2 separate regions of the Homo sapiens genome follow, and region 2 is linked to region 1. Evidence: promoter capture Hi-C in human tissues and cell types (Jung and others, 2019). All regions are on one chromosome and are shown on one strand. Each heading gives the region's core, a stretch centred on a gene start or on the middle of the fragment in contact. The rest is flanking DNA. Distances are from core to core; before and after follow the strand shown. Region 1 holds the start of EFR3B (EFR3 homolog B). Region 2 overlaps DNAJC27-AS1 (DNAJC27 antisense RNA 1).

Evidence for each region. Contacts are between HindIII fragments. The study calls those that stand out against the background at their distance.
Region 2: a contact is called between a fragment that was not itself captured here and the fragment with the promoter of EFR3B in region 1, in 1 of the 25 tissues and cell types used here (dorsolateral prefrontal cortex).

Annotation. Positions count from the first base shown.
Region 1 is chr2:25,040,521-25,044,540 of GRCh38, reverse strand. EFR3B (EFR3 homolog B) reads right to left here and starts at 2,465. Exons shown (of 23, transcript NM_014971.2): 1 at 2,222-2,465. The coding sequence starts at 2,228. RefSeq lists silencers at 1,072-1,201, 1,532-1,661, 1,772-1,851, 1,982-2,601 and enhancers at 1,559-2,507, 2,508-3,457. The HindIII fragment of the contact is 5,946 bases long and covers 1-4,020 here.
Region 2 is chr2:24,992,822-24,996,888 of GRCh38, reverse strand. All of the region lies in intron 1 of DNAJC27-AS1 (DNAJC27 antisense RNA 1), which reads right to left. Among named protein-coding and RNA genes, the nearest start is that of DNAJC27-AS1, 23 kb to the right of the region's middle. The HindIII fragment of the contact is 3,779 bases long and covers 372-4,067 here.

The DNA of each region.
Region 1 (4,020 bases), core at 1,216-3,715:
TGTTCCATCTAACTCTGTCACCCTGGAAAAATAACTTGTAAAACAAGAGGAAAATTGCAATTATAAGAAGTCTATAATTCTGTGATCCCCGCCCCCAAACCTCCTTACTCACTTTTTTTCATCACTCTATTGACTTCTGGTGAGAAAATGATTTTAAATATCACATGAACCCTTTCTTTTCATGAAAGTCAGGAATATACGAAAATCCAAGCAGTTGAGTCCTCACCAGGGGGAGTGGGCTCCCTCCCACACCTCCTAAGATCAGACTCTGCACCCAGCAACTCAGTAGTAATTTCCCACCCAAGCTTGGTGTGACTTTCCTTTGCTGCAGGCAACTGCCCAGAGGATTCCTCCATTACAATCTTTCTATGAATCATTCAGGGTAAATACCATATCTGTTTGCATCTGGGGAAATAAAAATATATTATAAAAGAGAAATGAAAACCTGAGATGTGTCTGAAAATAGCACCCAGATGCTTTGATTCCCCAGTTCACCTTTCTGACTATCCAGCTCTTCCTTGTCTTGCTTCATACAACAGAGGCAGCCTGGGACCCCCACCTTCAGATATCTCGGGTAAACGACCAAATTATCTTGGACTAAATGCAATGAGGCAGCCCAGCAGAACCCAGTTCCTAATTCTGACCCATTCTGATGAGCCTGTCCTAACTCCTTCCCCACTGCAGGTGCCCCTGCAGTCACATGCTTTTGTCAAATGATCTGCAGCTTCAGGCTGCTACCTCTGCAGAAAAGAAGAGGGGGAAAACAGAGAGAGTAAAAAAATACACACATACTCCTATATATATACATACATATCACAACCTCTGGCTTATAAAGCATAACCGCCTTTTTACCTTTCCCCAGAGTCCCCAGTGGTCAGCAGCACAGCCTCTCAGGCCAACCTCCCCCTCCTCCCACTTGGTCCAAGAGAAATGGTACTTGCTGAGGGGACCTGCTGATGTCTCACCCTGGATCAGAAATGCAAACGTATTTCTGAGCAACTGGGCAGGGAAGGAGACCGATGAAAAAGTTGAGTCAGTCTCTCTCTCTCTCTCAGTAGGGGGGCCCACCAATTGCTGAGCCTTTCCACCAGGCTCTCAGCTTCCTCTGCCTCTAACAAACTTTGTGACTCACAGTCTGTTCGCGGAGCGAGGCAGCTGAGCAGCCGAGCAGCCTCAGTGATGGGTTAAATTGGGAACGCACTCTTCTCCAAACACTGACCCCTCAAGTGCAGCCTGAGCCCCTACCTTGCAGTGGGGGTGGGAGGTGAGCACAGCTCCAATTATTTTGCTGGCACTAGAAGAGCTGCCAGAGACCTGGGTTTTCATGGACTTATGTCTACCGGGATCACACACACACGCACAGCCCTTGGTGGGCTGCAGGCTCAGGAATGCAGTCCATTCCTAGACTGGTCTAGGTCTCCAGTGCTCCATTCATCAGAGCTGCAATGTGGGACCCAACGCGCTCTCTCTTCTTCACCCACACTGCCTGCAAAACCAGAGGGAGTCCTAGCAAATGATCAAGCAGAGCCGTGCATCGTGAGGGTCTGGCTAACTGTTGCACGGCAGTTGAGGGGATGGCGGTGGAGGCGGGGAGAGGTCAGGGCTGTGCTGCACCCTCTCAGCAGCGTCTCCTCCCTTCATCACTGCGGAGGGAAAATCTGGAAGTTGGTGAACCTGGATCCCGCGGGGCGGCAGGGGCAGGCAGAGGCCGAGTCCATTCAGGCGGGCGAGACGAGACTCGGCCACTGGCTGCTCCCCGGGCCTCTGCGCCGCCGGCGCCGCCTCCCGCCTTCTCCGAGCCGCGCAGACGACCGGCCGCGGGCGTCTCCCTCAGCCCTGGACCGGCTTCCCACAGAAAACTCCCAGGCACAAACCGCTTTTGTTAATTCCGCAAATGCTGCCACACGACCACCTCCTCCAGCACTCCCGGTCTGCTCGGCTCCGGGAGACCCGCTTTCCCCTGAGCCTCCGCCCCCCGAAGGACCACCGCCCAGCACCGGCACGCGCCGGGCCTGGAGAGGACCCCAGGGTCCCCGGCCCGAGGCATCTTTGTCCTCGCAGCGCAGACGCGCGCGCACAGAGCGACCGCAACAGCCCCGCCGGGCACCAGGTCAGCGGCCTGGCCCCGCGCCAGGGCCGTGCAGGGGGACAATGGTCCGCGCCGGGGAAGTTTGCGGAGTCGCCCCCGCGGGCCCGGGCCCGGGCGCGGAGCCCTCCTTACCGTACATCTCGGCGGGGCGCGCGCCTCTCGAGAGGCCGGCGTCGCTGCGGCGTTCCCAGCCAGCCCTCGGCGGCGCCCGCCTTTCATTCACAGTCGGGGCGGGGACTGGCGGCGGCCGACAGGGGCCCGGGCGGGGAGGGAGCAGACGCGGGGGCCGGCCGCGGGCAGGACGGAGCCGGGCGCCGCCAGCCCATTCAGCGCCGGGCTGCAGCGGCCGCCTCCGCTCGGGTTGCTGGGCACTGCTGCGCGCAGGGGGCGGGGGCTATGCTAATACTAATGCTCCTCCCTCCCGGCTCGGCCAACCCGAGGCCTCTGCGAGCCCCTCGCCCCGCCCCGCCCCTGCGCCCCGCCCCCGAGAAACCCACAGCCGGAGATGCGCCTTTTCCGAGGCTGTCGCCCTAAGGGCCGCAGCGTGCACCTGCGGAGCTACCCACCCCAACTCCCTGCTCCTGTCGGAGCGCTCGGAAGCTCTCCCTAACCTGGGGTCCTCGAGGTCAGCCGGGGCGCTGAGAGCTGCAGGTGCACCCCTCCTCCAGTTCTGTCCAGGCTGCGTGGGCTAAGCCGGGGGGCGCAAGGATGGGAATTGGGGAATGACTTCCACCCTCTCCTGGCTAGGTACCTTAGCTGAGCGCCGTTCTCTGATGAAGCCCTCCAGCCCTCAGCTGCGCCCTACCAGCTACTCTCTGGCTAGGTGCCCAGCCACTCTCTGGCTAGGTGCTTGCTACCACCAAACAGCGTCCTTCCCGGGTCAGGGACGCAGGAAACGCACCCCACTCCCAACCCCCAAGGGCTGCAGGAAGTCCGCTTGCTTTTCCTCTCCCTGATTTATATGTGTAATTCGCAAGCTTTGCCGCCAGGATCCTCTCCAGCTGAGCCCCAGCGCCGACTTGAATTCCAGCTCTGCACCTGCCGTGACCCTATGAGGAACAGGCACAGAGAGGCAGCGGCTCATGCCTACGCCCACACCTGAAGATCTCTCCTAAGCTAGCTCAGGACTTCCCTGGGCTTCTCATCCAGCCTTCTTTACATTGCACACGTTCCCGTCTTTTTTTTTTTTTTTTTTTTTTTTTTTTTTTTTTTTGACATGGAGTCTCACTCTCGCCCAGGGTGGAGTACAGTGGCACTATCTCGGCTCCCTGCAAACTCCGCCTCCTGGGTTCAAGCGATTCTTCCACCTCAGCCTCCAGAGTAGCTGGGACTACAGGTGCGTGCCACCACGCCCGGCTAATTTTTGTATTTTTTGGTAGAGAAGGGATTTCACCATGTTGGCCAGGCTGGTCTGGAACTCCTGACCTCAAGTGATCCGCCCGCCTCGGCCTCCCAAAGTGCTGAGATTACAGGCCTGAGCCACTTCTCCTGCCCCTCCTGGCCTTTCAATATCGATTTCTTAGTTTCTCTTGGCCCATGGTTGAGAGTTGTTTGGGTTTTCTTTTGTTTTTTTCTACTGGTAGAAATATTCTACTAGTAGAAGTTAGAGAGGAAAGGAACTTAAAGATACTTAAGAACTGAACTTCATTTTACTTCATTTAACGTTGAGAGGTTAATTTATGTTGTTAGGCTGGGCTGTGTGTCTGTAGGCCAATGATCTACTCTCTCAACCCCAGCTTCCTGCAGGACTGTTGGGAAACTGGAATAAAATCTACATGAAATGACACAGTGGGCACTCATGTATATTTTTTCCTTCCTTCATGGCTCAAGGCAGGAACAGAGCCAGAGAAAGAATCCAGGTTGCCAGACTCTTGAAACAGTGCTCAGTCTGTTGCACTCAAAACTTATGTTTCCTATTTTTCTCTGGCCTG
Region 2 (4,067 bases), core at 1,012-3,511, 47 kb after region 1:
GGCTCCCATTAGATGGTCTTCTTTGCCAAAGCAAAAGAAAATATGGGGCCATCTCTCATCTCCCCAAGCTTCAAATGTGGTCAATAAATTGGGGTGTGAAAAATGCCAAAAAATAAGTGGCCAAATATTCACAGTGATACTGCTTATGACATACTCTCTCACGCTGAAAGCAAATCAGGCTGTGAAGTCTCTCATCTGAGCCCAGCTGGCTCACCAGAACTCCGATTGGGGTTGGAGATCAACTGGCCCCCATGCACTGAAACTCACTGGCCAGAGATCTGGATAAGTGGCAGAGGCCCACCTATACCATTTGTTTTGCTACTCCAGACCTTAATTCTGCCACGTGTTCACTTTTTCTAAGGGATATTCTGGTTTCTTTTTCTCTTCTTTAGCCCTGTAAAATTCACCAATTCTGAGAATTCATTGGGACTGTAGAGGTTGTGATAATGTCTTTATTAAATATTTTTAATATAAAAAAACCTTATCTTGATTTAAGTGCCAAGATCCTCTAGACCTTGTTCCATGGACCCCTGTTAATAGCTATTCTTGCACGAACACATCAGTGGACCTGCTTTCCTTTCCTTGCTGAACAATATGATTATGAATCTGACATTTGAATCCCAAAAATTATCCATCCATCCTGCCATACTTAATTACTTATAGTTGTAAAGAAGCTTCAGCCAGGCGCGGTGGCTCACGCCGGTAATCTCAGCACTTTGGGAGGCTGAGAGGGGTGGATCACTTGAGGTCAGGAGTTTGAGACCAGTCTGGCTAACATGGCAAAACCCCATCTCTACTAAAAATACAAAAATTAGCTGGGTGTGGTGGCACACGCCTATAATCCCAGCTATTCGGGAGGCTGAGGCAGGAGAATCGCCTGCAGAGGCAGAGGTTACAATGAGCCAAGATCACGTCACTGCACTCCATCTGGGGCAACACAGCGAGACTCTGTCTCAAAAATAAATAAATAAATAAATAGATAGATAAATAAATAAATAAATAAACAAGAAGCCTCACAGCAAACTAACAGTTTTTCTATTTTGAAGCCCATTAATACCTTTTCAAGGGAGATGCTGGGGATTGTCACTTAGTTTAGTGGCATTTCTCAGCCTTCAAGCCCTTTCATGCCTACACCATTGCATTGGCAGGTGTTGACCATGACTTAAGTCTTTTTCTCAGCTCTTTGACCTTGCCCTTTCTATAAATTCCCTGGGTTTCTGGTTACCATTCACCTGAAGCAGCAGTTCCAAAGCCTGCTTGATTTGGTCTCCATGGTGGAGCTGAGCAGAAGTCACAGACCTCTTCTCTCCTTCCAGCAGGAAGTGGGTTAAAAACTAGCATGTGGGCTGGGCGCGGTGGCTCACACCTGTAATCCCAGCACTTTGGGAGGCCAAGGTGGGCAGATCACTTGAAGTCAGGAGTTCAAGACCAGCCTGGCCAACATGGTGAAACCCCGTCTCTACCAAAAATATTAAAAAATTAGCTGGGTGTAGTGGCGCACACCTGTAATCCGAGCTACTCGGGAGGCTGAGGCAGGAGAATCACTTGAACCCAGGTGGTGGAGGTTGCGGTGAGCTGAGATCGCGCCTCTGCACTCTAGCCTGGCGACGAGTGAAACTCTGTCTCAAAAAAAAAAAAAAAAAAGAACCTGAGTCCCTGACTTCATTGTGCCATTAACAAAAAACAAACAACAACAACAACAAAAAAAACAAACAAACAAAAAAAATAACTAGCTTGTGGTTTGCAACTACAAAGGGTTATTTTTTGGCTTTTTCTTTTTTTTTTTTTTTGAGATAGGGTCTCTCTCTGTCGCCCAGGCTGTAGTGCAGTGGCCCCATCTCGGCTCACTGCAACCTCCACCTCCTGGGTTCAATTCTCCTGCCTCGGCCTCCTGAGTAGCTGGGATTACAGGCATGTGCCACCATGCCCAGCTAATTTTTTTTGTATTTTTAGTAGAGATGGGGTTTCGCCATATTGGCCAGGCTGGTGTCGAACTCCTGACGTTGTGATACATCTGCCTCAGCCTCCGAAAGTGCTGGGATTACAGGCATGGTTTGTAATTTGGTTCTCTTTCTGGAATAACCAGTGCTAAGCAACCCATTCTCTCCCAGTTATAATTCTGATGCAAGTATCTTTTTAAAGGTACTGAATTTTGCAGCTATAGCTTAGCTCTGTGCTTCCTCCACTTCACACTTTAGCTGAAAGTCAGGATAGAAGGTCATCTTAGTTTTAATGAGGACCGTGCTGTCCTGGCTAGGCATTGCTTTTGGTCTTCTAAGATACAGTACAAAAGTCAGAATTCTGTCCTTTGACACCATCTAATTTGCTGGTTTGTTTTCAATATCTTTGTTTCCTTTTATTTCCTCTTGAACATTTATTTGTTGAGTAGTCAATAGTTACACAGGGTACAAAATACAAAAGTTGTAAAAGGATATTCAGTGGAAAGCCAGTCTCCTACTCTTAACTTCCAACCCTCAGTCCCTCTTCTTAGGCACCCACAATTACCAAAGTCTCTCTGCAGGTTCAAAACCATGAGTATTAAACAAACAAACAAACAAGAAAAGCCACACATGGTGATGTTGTTTTGCACCTTGATTTTTTTTTCTCTTATCTATCTCTTGGTGATAATTCCCTGTCAGTCACATGGAGTTGTCTCCCTTTTTTTTTAACTAGCTGCCTGTGGTTGTTCTGTAATGTAGCCAGAACCCCTATTGGTGGACATTCAGGTTGTGTCTGGGTTTTTAGTCTTTTTGTTTTCATGGACAAACTGTTAACCAGATGAAGAGAGGTAAAAATAGCTCTTATGTCCTGAAAACAACTTCAGGTTGCCACCGATTCTGTAAGATCTTATCAGGCTGTAAGACGCTTCCCATATAAGTCAGCCGGTGAGTGTTCAATGGCTCTTGGCAAGCTTTCTGTCAGATCTTGGATCCATGTTCAGGGAAACTGTAGAGCTCCTAATCAGCTGTATCAGGCATACATATGGCTAATTCTGAATGCCCAGCTCTGTGTTCCCTTCTCCCTTTTCTCCTCTCTTTCTATGCTATATATGAAAAAAATAGAAGAATAAATAGCAGAACCAAAAAGTGGTATAAGAGTTTGGAGGAAAGAGACTTATGTAAACTGGAGAACCAAAAATATATAAATATATTGGAGGTAATATTTGAGTAGGGCCAGGCCAGGGGTTGATAGAAAGGAGGAGTTAGTAAATTAAAGGCAAGGAAAACAGAAAGAGCAAAGGCAAAGGGAGGTGGCCACAGCTCAAATTCAGCAGACCGTGAGATCAAGCAGACTGGAACAAACGTTTCATGCTGAGGAGCACAGGCAGATGAGATAGGACAGATAAAGTGGAGTGTGATTCTGGAGGATCTGAATACATGGATGGCAAGCTTATATTTACTCTTAGAGGGTCTAAGATAAGTCTGGATATCCGGTATTCCCAACTTGTTCTTTTTTAGGAGTGCCTTAACTATTATCAATCCTTTGTGCCTCCACATAAAATTTAGAATCATCTTGTCAAATTCTCTTTGGGATTGTACCTGTAATAGCATTGGTTCTATAGATTAATTTAAGGGGAACTGACATCTTTACACTTTTAGCTAACAATGAATATGGTATATCTTCTCATTTACTTACTTTTCTTTTTTTTTAAGACAAGGTCTTGCTCTGTTGCCCAGGCTGGAGTACAGTGGTATGAGCTCAGCTCACTGCAGCCTCAACCTCCCAGGCTCAAATGATCCTTCCACCTCAGCTTCCCAACTAGCTGGGACCACAGGCACATGCCTTCATGCTTGGCTGATTTTGTTTATTTTTTGTAGAAGCAGGGTCTCACTATGTTGCCACAGCTGGTCTTGAACTCCTGGGCTCAAGAAATCCTCCTGCCTCAGCCTCCCAAACTGCTGGGATTACAGGTGTGAGCCACCGCGCCAAGTTTAGGTATTCTTTTTTTTTTTTTTTTTTTTTTTTTTTGAGACAAGAGTCTCACTCTGTCACCCAGGCTGGAGTGCAGTGGCACAATCTCAACTCACTGCAACATCTGTCTCCTGGGTTCAAGCAATTCTCCTGCC